Linked DNA regions of Homo sapiens: region 1 is linked to region 2. The links are contacts of gene promoters, found by promoter capture Hi-C in blood cells and fetal thymus (Javierre and others, 2016). All regions are on one chromosome and are shown on one strand. The core of a region is centred on a gene start or on the middle of the fragment in contact, and the rest is flanking DNA. Distances in the headings are between cores, read along the strand shown. Region 1 overlaps LOC124902869 (a long non-coding RNA gene). Region 2 holds the start of ACRBP (acrosin binding protein).

Region 1 (4,344 bases), core at 994-3,493, 520 kb after region 2:
TGTAGAGATAACTGAACTTACTGCAAACCCAAAGGCTCAAGAAGGCAATTACAATGCCTATGTTTAAAACATTCTAAGAATCAGATTTGCTCAAGGAATCAAGGAAGAACTAGTTAAAGACAACGGCAGCAGCAACAACAAAACAACGTAGAATTTTGTCTTTCTTCTGGAACGGGTGCAGTGGAAATAAATAAAAACAAAAGAAAAAAAAGGCTGATTAAGATGGGGGAAGAGGGAAATTTCATTGGGAGAAAGGCTTATGGTCTTTGAAGACAAGCTAGACAATGTTAAAGAAGTATGAGGACTTAGAGGCCAGGCCAGATGGGTATGTAAGTGAAAAGGTGTATGTGGGTCTGATGACCCTCAATTAGAGGATTAGACAAGGCCATTGACAGGGCTATAGAGTCTGGTGAGACAAGAAAAATGCAAAACAAAATGCAGAACTTATTAAGCGAGGAAAACTTGCTAAGGATCCAGGTATGGGTGCAGTACTGTTCCATCTACCTAAGATGGGAGAAGGCACAATGCAGAAGATGCCCTGCTGATGTGAGCTGTGAAACAGTCCAGCCAAAAGCCTGGCCTGTGGTCAGCAGAGGTAAATCTACCAGGAGAATGCTCATGAGGTCACTGGTGAGAATTACCTTGGCAGAAAGTAGCTCTCTTGTCCTGCTCTTCAATCTGACAAGTCACTGTTTTATAGCACTGTCTTAGTCAATTGGGCTGCTGTAACAGAATACCATAGCCTGGGTGGCTTAAACCAGGGATCCCCAACCCCTGGATCACTGATTGGTACCAGTCCGTGGTCTGTTAGAAACTGCGCTGCCACAGAAGGAGGTGAGTGGTAGGCAAGCAAGTGAAGCTTCTTTTGTATTTATAGCTGCTCCCCATTGCTGGCATTACTGCCTAAGCTTTGCCTCCTGTCGGAGCAGTGGCAGCATTAGATTCTCATAGGAGCACAAACCCTGTCGTGAACTGTGCATGTGAGGGATCTAGGTTGTGTGCTCCTTGTGAGAATCTAATGCCTGATGACCTGTCAATGTCTCCCATCATCCCCAGATAGGATGTCTAGTTGTAGGAAAACAAGTTCAGGGCTCCCAGTGATTCTACATTATGGTGAGTTGTACAATTATTTTACTATGTATTGCAGTGTAATAATAATAGAAATAAAGTGCACAATAAATGTAATGTGCTTGAATCATCCTGAAACCATTCCACCCTCCAGTCTCTGGAAAAATTGTCCTCCATGAAACTGATCCCTGGTGCCAAAAAGGTTGGTGACCACTGGCTTAAAATACATACATTTATTCCTCACAATTCTGTTGGCTGGGAAGTTCAAGATCCAGGTGTCAGCAGATTTGGTTCCTGGTGAGGGCTCTCTTCCTAGTTGGTAGACATCTATCTTCTTGCACATGGTGGAGAGCAGAGAGAGTGAGGATGAGCACTCATATCTCTTTTTATAAGGAAAGACACTAATTGCATTAACGGGAGCTCTACCTTCATGACCTAATTACCTCCCAAAGGCTCCACCTTCTAATATTATTGCAGTTTTTGCCATTTTTTAAAATGGCAAAACCACAGTTACTTTTGCACCAACCTAATGCCATCACGTTGGGGATTAGGATTTCAACATATAAATTTTTTAGGAGGAGGGGACACAAACATTCATTCCATAATAGGTACTAAGTTTTTGACCTAATAACCACAATCTTCCTGAGAAGGTCAAACTGCTTTGCTTAGTGGGGTAAATGACTCTACAACTCTGACAAGGTGTGAAACTTAGTATAGAGTCAGTGAGGTAAATTATAATATTGTGAAGTCAAGTTTAAGATAAATTTAAAAATCTGTATGAATTTAAGTTAAACCTGAATTTAAATTGTGTTTTCAACTTGAAATATGTGATTTTAGACTGATGAGTTTCAGTTGAAAGGTATAAGATGCTGCTTAAGCTTATAAGCAGTATTAGAACATTTAGGACACATCAAACATCTGAACATGGCAAATCAAGTAATTAGATTTACAGGAGTTGCTGAAGTGGTGAGAAAGATTTTGCATATAAGGATTCTAAGTCTACCTTGTCAGGCAATGAAAAGCATGAGGAAAAGAAACTCAATATATTAAGCATGTGAATATGGTTTATATCAGTTATGAAAAATGTGCTAACTTTGTAAATAGGACTCATTGCTAAGAAAATGTAAATCTGTTTGAGTTAAACATCAATCAAAGAACAAGTGGAAGTGATTTTTTCAAAAACAACACTTAGTACATTTATAGACAGAATTTCAAGATTTGTAATTCGAATTTAAAGGCTTATGCAAAATCAGATTTTATAATTATAATTTTAATAAACATTGATTAAAAACCCAGATACCTGGAAATAGTCTTTCTCACACACATTAGACATTTAAAATATTCACAGTGATGGTTGTGTGTGTGTGTGTGAAACTTGTATCAGTAATTAGATCAGAAAGAATGATGCACTCCAAAGAAATCTAAGAGATGGAGAAGAGATGGCCCAAAAAGGACTGGAGACACAAATTTGAGAAGCTTAAAAAAAAAACACAACGGGTTATAGTATTGAAAGCAAAATTTCCCATAATTTAGCAAACCAGTACCTCAAGAAAGTTTGATTTTAACATGTAGACCATTTTTTAGAAGTCTATTTTATTTATTTTTAATTTTTAATTTTTTTTTGAGACAGAGGAGTCTCCCTCTGTCACCCAGGTAGCAGTGCAGTGGCGTGATCTCATCAGCTCACTGCAACCTCTGCCTCTGGGGTTCACGTGATTCTCCTGCCTCAGCCACCCAAGTAGCTGGGATTACAGGTGCCTGCCACCATGTCCAGCTAATTTTTGTATTTTTAGTAGAGATGGGTTTTCACCATGTTGGCCAGGCTAGTCTTTAACCCCTGACCTCAGGTGATCCACCCACCTTGGCCTCCCAAAGTAGAAAGTCTATTTTAAACAATTTTAATTACAGCTAGCTTAATCATACACAGAATTCCTTTCATAAATTCCCCTTCATGAACCTTATCATGACTTACAAAGACCATTTACAACATGCTTGGACTTTTTGACTTGTCTTTACTATCTCTTTCTTAAATAACCAGCCATTTTATTTTCAGTTCTTAAATGTGTGTTTTGCCTGCAGTGCTTTTTGCTTTGACTTTTTGTTAACTGTATTTGGGCAATTGTTTAAAGCAGGTCACTTGGTTGTGAGAGCCCTCCCATTGTGTTGACTCTGGGACGCTGGAGTCATATTGTTCTGTGGCTCCCACCAGGCCTTTGGGATTCACTGTTGGCTTTTCCCTAGATGCTCTGAAGTTATTGGCATTGGTTAGCTCCCAGGTACTCTGGAATTTCTGGCATTTGGTGTAGGGACCCTCACTGGCTGATACTCTGGTACTCTGGATTTTTGGCATTTGGTTTTGTTGGCCACACTCTGAATGCTCTAGGGCTTTCAGCATTGGTGTTCCCTCTAGGATTGTGGGTTGAAGGCACACCCTAGGGGGAATCTTGGTCTTGCCTTTTCTTGTTTCCTGACCTAAAGTTATCATTTTCCATAACAGCATTTTCTTTTCTTATTGTCACTTTATTTGCACTTTTCCTTTTACATTTTGCTTTAAAAAATACTCCTTTTGTCATAGTTCATTCACTGGCAAATCCTTATAACCCACTTTCATAACGCCTTGCTACTTATACTTACACCTTCTCAGCAGGAAGTGAGAATCTAAAAGGAAAACATAGTAAAAGCCCAGTTCCTTTTCCTTTCACTAGACTTAGAAAAACTATGTCCGGTAGAAACATGGGACATGGGACAATGACAGGTATCCCAGAGGACTTGCCACTTGGGTTGTCTTTTAGGCTATTAGAGCAAATTCAAATTTGGCCTCAAGAAAAAGCAACTCATATTCTATTGCAATACCACTTGGTTTCAATACAAATTAGAAAACCAATAGATTTGGCCTAAACATGGTTCTATATGTTATAATAATATTTTACGATTAGACTCATTCTGTAAAGAAGAACGGAAATGAGAGGAGATCCCTTGTGTACAGGCTTTTATGGTCCTTTATTGGCTCATGTTACTTCTAAGTAACAGGAAGCTGTGCCTAAGGGATCCCCTCCTAGCTGCTCCCCCTAGAAGGCCTATGGCCTCCCTGGAGTCTCCTCAGTCCCCCAGTTCTGAGGGGGGTCCTGCCAGTTCTCTAATGAAGAATTCCACCCAAGGTCATTGGGCACCCCTTCCTCTTATCCAGCTACCCCAGCCTATACACCCTGCTGCCTGAGAAAGTACCAACCAGTACCACCAGGAGTAGGGCTCCATATCAGCTCCAAAAATCAAACC
Region 2 (4,435 bases), core at 1,819-4,318:
CTTAGTCCCCTGTCCTTCTTCCTGCTTTCCCTCCTCTTCCTGTTCCTCTTCTTGCTCTTCCTGTTTCTGCCCCTCTTCCTGCTTGTGTTCTTGTGTCGGCTCCTGCCTGTGCTCCACTCCTTGCTCCTGCTTGTGCTCTGGCGCTTGCTCCTGGCCTCCCAGGGACAAGGAGGATTGTAGGAGCTCTTCCACGTTGTTGCTGAGCCTCTCAGGCCAGGGCTGGAAGGTCTGGCGTTCTGTCACTACAGCAGGGTTTAGAGAGAAGGGAGAGAGACAGTCAGGCTTCTAGCCCCTGAGTGTCTTTGTTCACAGAGGGACACACACATAAACAAAGCAGACCAAGTCACACTTATACACACAGAAAAACACAGAAAAGAACATAAGTATTAAACTAAAAGAACATTACCACGGCAACTGTAAGGCTGGTGGTATGCATCACCTTCCCACCTCCCTGGCAAGCACTCCTCCTTCCCTAACTTCCACCTCAAATACCACCATTTGTCCCTCTCCCTTAGGAAACACCAAGTATGCTGAGTAGCTAGCAGTCAATCCTTTCTAAAGTGAAGACATTAGCTTATAAAGGGCCTAGAGGTCCTTTGTAATGCAACAATGTCTCTGGAATTGGGAAAAATGGATTCAGGGCAAAATTGTAAGTAATGGCAGAAGAGATTCTGGTCCAGGAGAGCCCTAACTTGTATTCATAAAAAGCTGACACTCCTTTGTGTAAACAGCTGTCTGCTGGCGCCCCCTTCCCGCCCAACATGCTTCCCATTTCCCTGCCATGGATGCCTTACGTTGTGGGCTCTGGGAGTTGTGGGAGTAGCTGGTGGTCTCCCGGCTGCTGAGAGGGTCTCACCTGTGAAGTGGGGTGAGATGGGGGAGGTCATCGTGGTGGGTGAGACTTCAGCTGAAGCTTCTATCTCCTTGAGAGTGTTAGGTGAGAGAATAGAGACTGGCTGGGAACACAGGACTCTCTGCAGGAAGAGAAGGAAAATGGGAAAGCCTTTCCTAAAGGGCAGACTTCTGCTCCAGCTGGTTCTTCAACCCCTTTTCCAGCATGTCTTATCTCTCAGTTTCTAGGCAGGGATAAAGGGACATGGTCCCTGCTGGAACCCTCTAGACCTGAGAAAGGGTCCCTTCAGAAGATGAATCTCTGTTTGTCTGGGCCACATCCCTGCCGTCACTTTTGCATTTGACTCAAAATCACTGACCTGTTCGAAGAAACGTAAGGGCTTATCTCTTTGCCTCTTCCCATCCCTCTTCCCTACTTCTTTTTGTTTGGGTTTTGGGTTTGTTTTTTTTGTTTTTTTTTTTTGAGACGGAGTCTCACTCTGTCACCCAGGCTGGAGTGCAGTGGCGCGATCTCGGCTCACTGCAAGCCCCACCTCCCGGGTTCACGCCATTCTCCTGCCTCAGTCTCTCGAGTAGCTGGGACTACAGGCGCCTGCCACCACGCCCAGCTAATTTTTTGTATTTTTAGTAGAGACAGAGTTTCACCGTGTTAGCCAGGATGGTCTCGATCTCCTGACCTCATGATCTGCCTGCCTCGGCCTCCCAAAGTGCTGGGATTACAGGCGTGAGCCACCGCACTCGTCCCTGTTGTTGTTTTTTTTTGAGACACAGTCTTGCTCTGCCACTCAGGATAGGGTGCAGTGGCATGATCTCGGCTTACTGCAACCTTTGCCTCCCGGGTTCAAGCAATTCTCCTGCCTCAGCCTCCCGAGTAGCTGGGATTACAGGCGCCCATCACCAAGCCCGGCTATTTTTTTTTTTTTTTTTTGTATTTTTAGTAGAAACGGGGTTTCACCATGTTGGCCAGGCTGGTCTCGAACTCCTGACTTCAGGTGATCTGCCCATCTCGGGCTCCCAAAGTGCTGAGATTACAGGCATGAGCCACCATGCCCAGTCTCTTCTCTACTTTTCTTGCAGTAACAGAATTGTTCAATCTGAATATCCAAGGTGAGACTGTATTCATATATAATCTGGGTAAATGACTGGCAAAATGGCAGGGAAGGAGGAGCTAAGGATGACTCTCCTGGAACCCTTCCTCAACTCCCCACTGCTGCCGCCTCTCCCTTGGCCCTGGGGCACCAAATCCAACCTTTGTCCTGGGCCTCACCTTGGCATAGTAGACGTGGTTGGAGCAACGGTAGTGAGTGAACTGGCAGAAAGACTCAAACCAGGAGGCATAAGGGAGGTTGGAGCAGACAGCACCTGAGAAAGGGCAGGGGTGGAGAAGATGAACCCGTGGGGAGCTTGGGGTGGGGCTGTGGGCAATGGACTCCACGCCATGGGGAGGGTGGAGAGTACGAGCTCATGGTGTGGTGCCAGCCATGCCCTTCCCCGCCTCACATGAGCACAGGGGTTTTTGCCCTGAGGTTTGGGTGAACACTCTGGGTGCCTCGGTTTCCCCCCTAGTCTGGCCCTCACCATCGGGCACTAAGCCGTGGTTTTCATATTGGTCCAGCTGGACGAGTGTGGGATTCCGGCAGCCGTGGGTTGCACGGAGACGGCAGGTAGTCTCTGCCTTCCAGGTTGGAGTCAGCAGTGCGAAGAAGCGTTCGTATTCGGTAGGAGAGAGAGGGCTGCCTGGAGTGGAGGCCTGAGTCGAATCCTGGGCTGCGGCAGGTGCCAGAGGCAGGAGCAGCACTGCGGAGCGGGCGAACGGATGATGGAAGGACCGAACCCCAAAACCCGCTCCGAGACCAGGACAGACAGACCCAGACTGGCAAATTAGGAACGGGGTGAGGGTTATCCCTGCTGACCAGGGCGGGGGGAGTCTAGAGACAGAGGCAAAGGTCCGGCCGCGGGCGGGGGGAGATGGGAGTATCCCAGGACCTAGGGAGCCGACCCAGCGCGACCACCATGAGGAAGCGATCCAGAAACCGTAAAAGCAGAGCTCTCGGGAGGGAGAGGACTAGCCCGGGGAGAGTCTGTTGGAGCAGGTGTAAACCTCTCACCCTTCAGGAGTGAGGGAAGGAAGCCAGCGGCTGGCTTCCTCATGGCCGGAGAAGATCCGCCCGCGTCCCGTGGACACAAGCCGCCTCTAACGGGCCAAGCCGCAGAGAGAGCCGCAGGCGCGGGGCGGGGCGCACGCGGGCACCGCCCACGCGTCACAAAGAGCGGGCCGGGGCGGGGCCTCGACAGCCGGGCTCTCAGGGCCCTAAAGTGGCCAGAGCCCATCCAGATGGTAGGAATGGCAAACAGCTACCTTCACTTAGCGTCTTTTTCTTTTTTTTTTGAGACGGAGTCCTACTCTGTCGCCCAGGCTGGAGTGCAGTGGTGCGATCTCGGCTCACTACAACCTCGGCGTCCCAGGTTCAAGTGATTCTCCTGCCTCAGCCTCCCGAGTAGCTGGGACTATAGGTGCACGCCACCACGCCCAGCTAATTTTTGTATTTTTAGTAGAGATGGTATTTCACCATGCTGGCCAGATGGTCTCGATCTCTTGACCTTGTGATCCGCCCACCTCGGCCTCCCAAAGTGCTGGGATTACAGGCGTGAGCCACCATGCCCGGCCTAATTTTTGTATTTTTAGTAGAGACTGGGTTTCACCATGTTGGCCAGGCTGGTCTTGAACTCCTGACTTCAAATGATCTGCCCACCTCGGCCTCCCAAAGTGCTGGGATTACAGGTGTGAGCCACCGTAGCCAGCCACTTAGCATCTTTACATGCACTACCTTACGTAATTGCCATAGGAATCCCATAAGGTAGATACACTATCATTCGTTTTACAGATGAGAAATCGGGGCTTAGGGAAGCAACTCGCCCAACAAACAGGTCGTGAGGTCTAGAGCTAAGCGCAGGCAGAGATAGAATGTGCAAAACCAAGTCAAGGCCTATCTGGGTAGGAACTAGACAGGGCGCCTCCATGAGCAAAATGGGTCCAAGGGGAAAACAAGAGGGTGGCTCAGTGGTCTACGAAAGTGGTTTCCAAGGGAGAATCGAGTAAGACAGTCCACTGAGGTATGGGAGGAGAACTTTTGCTTTTGTATCTGTTTTGTGTTTAAAATGAGAAATTCCAGCCTGGGCAACAGGGCGAAACCTCGTCTCTACAAAAAGTACAAAAAATTAGCCAAGCGTGGTGGCACGTGCCTGTAGTCCCAGTTTCTTGGGGGGCTGAGATGGGAGGATCGCTTGAGCCCATGAGGCCAAGGCTGCAGTGAGGTGCAATCGGGCCACTGCTCTCCAGCCTGGGTGACAAAGTGAGACCCTGTCCCCACCCAAAAGCAAAAGTAAAAAAGAAAAATAAAACAAGAAATTGTCTTGGGCCAGACTTGGTGGCTCACGCCTGTAATCCCAGCATTTGGGAAGTCAAGGCGGGTGGATTCCTTGAGCCCAGGAGTTCCAGACCAGCCTGGGCAACATGGCGAAACCCTGTCTCTACAAAAAATACAAAAATTGTCAGGTGTGGTGGTGTGCGCCTGTTGTCCCA

The links. The method cuts DNA at HindIII sites, captures the fragments that hold promoters and counts their contacts. A CHiCAGO score of 5 or more calls a contact.
Region 1: a fragment that was not itself captured here is called in contact with the fragment with the promoter of ACRBP in region 2 in 1 of 17 cell types (non-activated CD4 T cells); the score reaches 5.4 in non-activated CD4 T cells.

The regions. Positions count from the first base shown.
Region 1 is chr12:7,165,388-7,169,731 of GRCh38, forward strand. It overlaps LOC124902869 (a long non-coding RNA gene), which reads right to left. Exons shown (of 2, transcript XR_007063196.1): 2 at 1,287-1,402. Among named protein-coding and RNA genes, the nearest start is that of PEX5, 22 kb to the right of the region's middle. The HindIII fragment of the contact is 598 bases long and covers 1,945-2,542 here.
Region 2 is chr12:6,644,364-6,648,798 of GRCh38, forward strand. ACRBP (acrosin binding protein) reads right to left here and starts at 3,069. Exons shown (of 10, transcript NM_032489.3): 1 at 2,961-3,069; 2 at 2,431-2,649; 3 at 2,120-2,214; 4 at 857-974; 5 at 1-242. The coding sequence starts at 3,003. RefSeq lists enhancers at 2,490-3,003, 2,927-2,996. The HindIII fragment of the contact is 16,958 bases long and covers 912-4,435 here.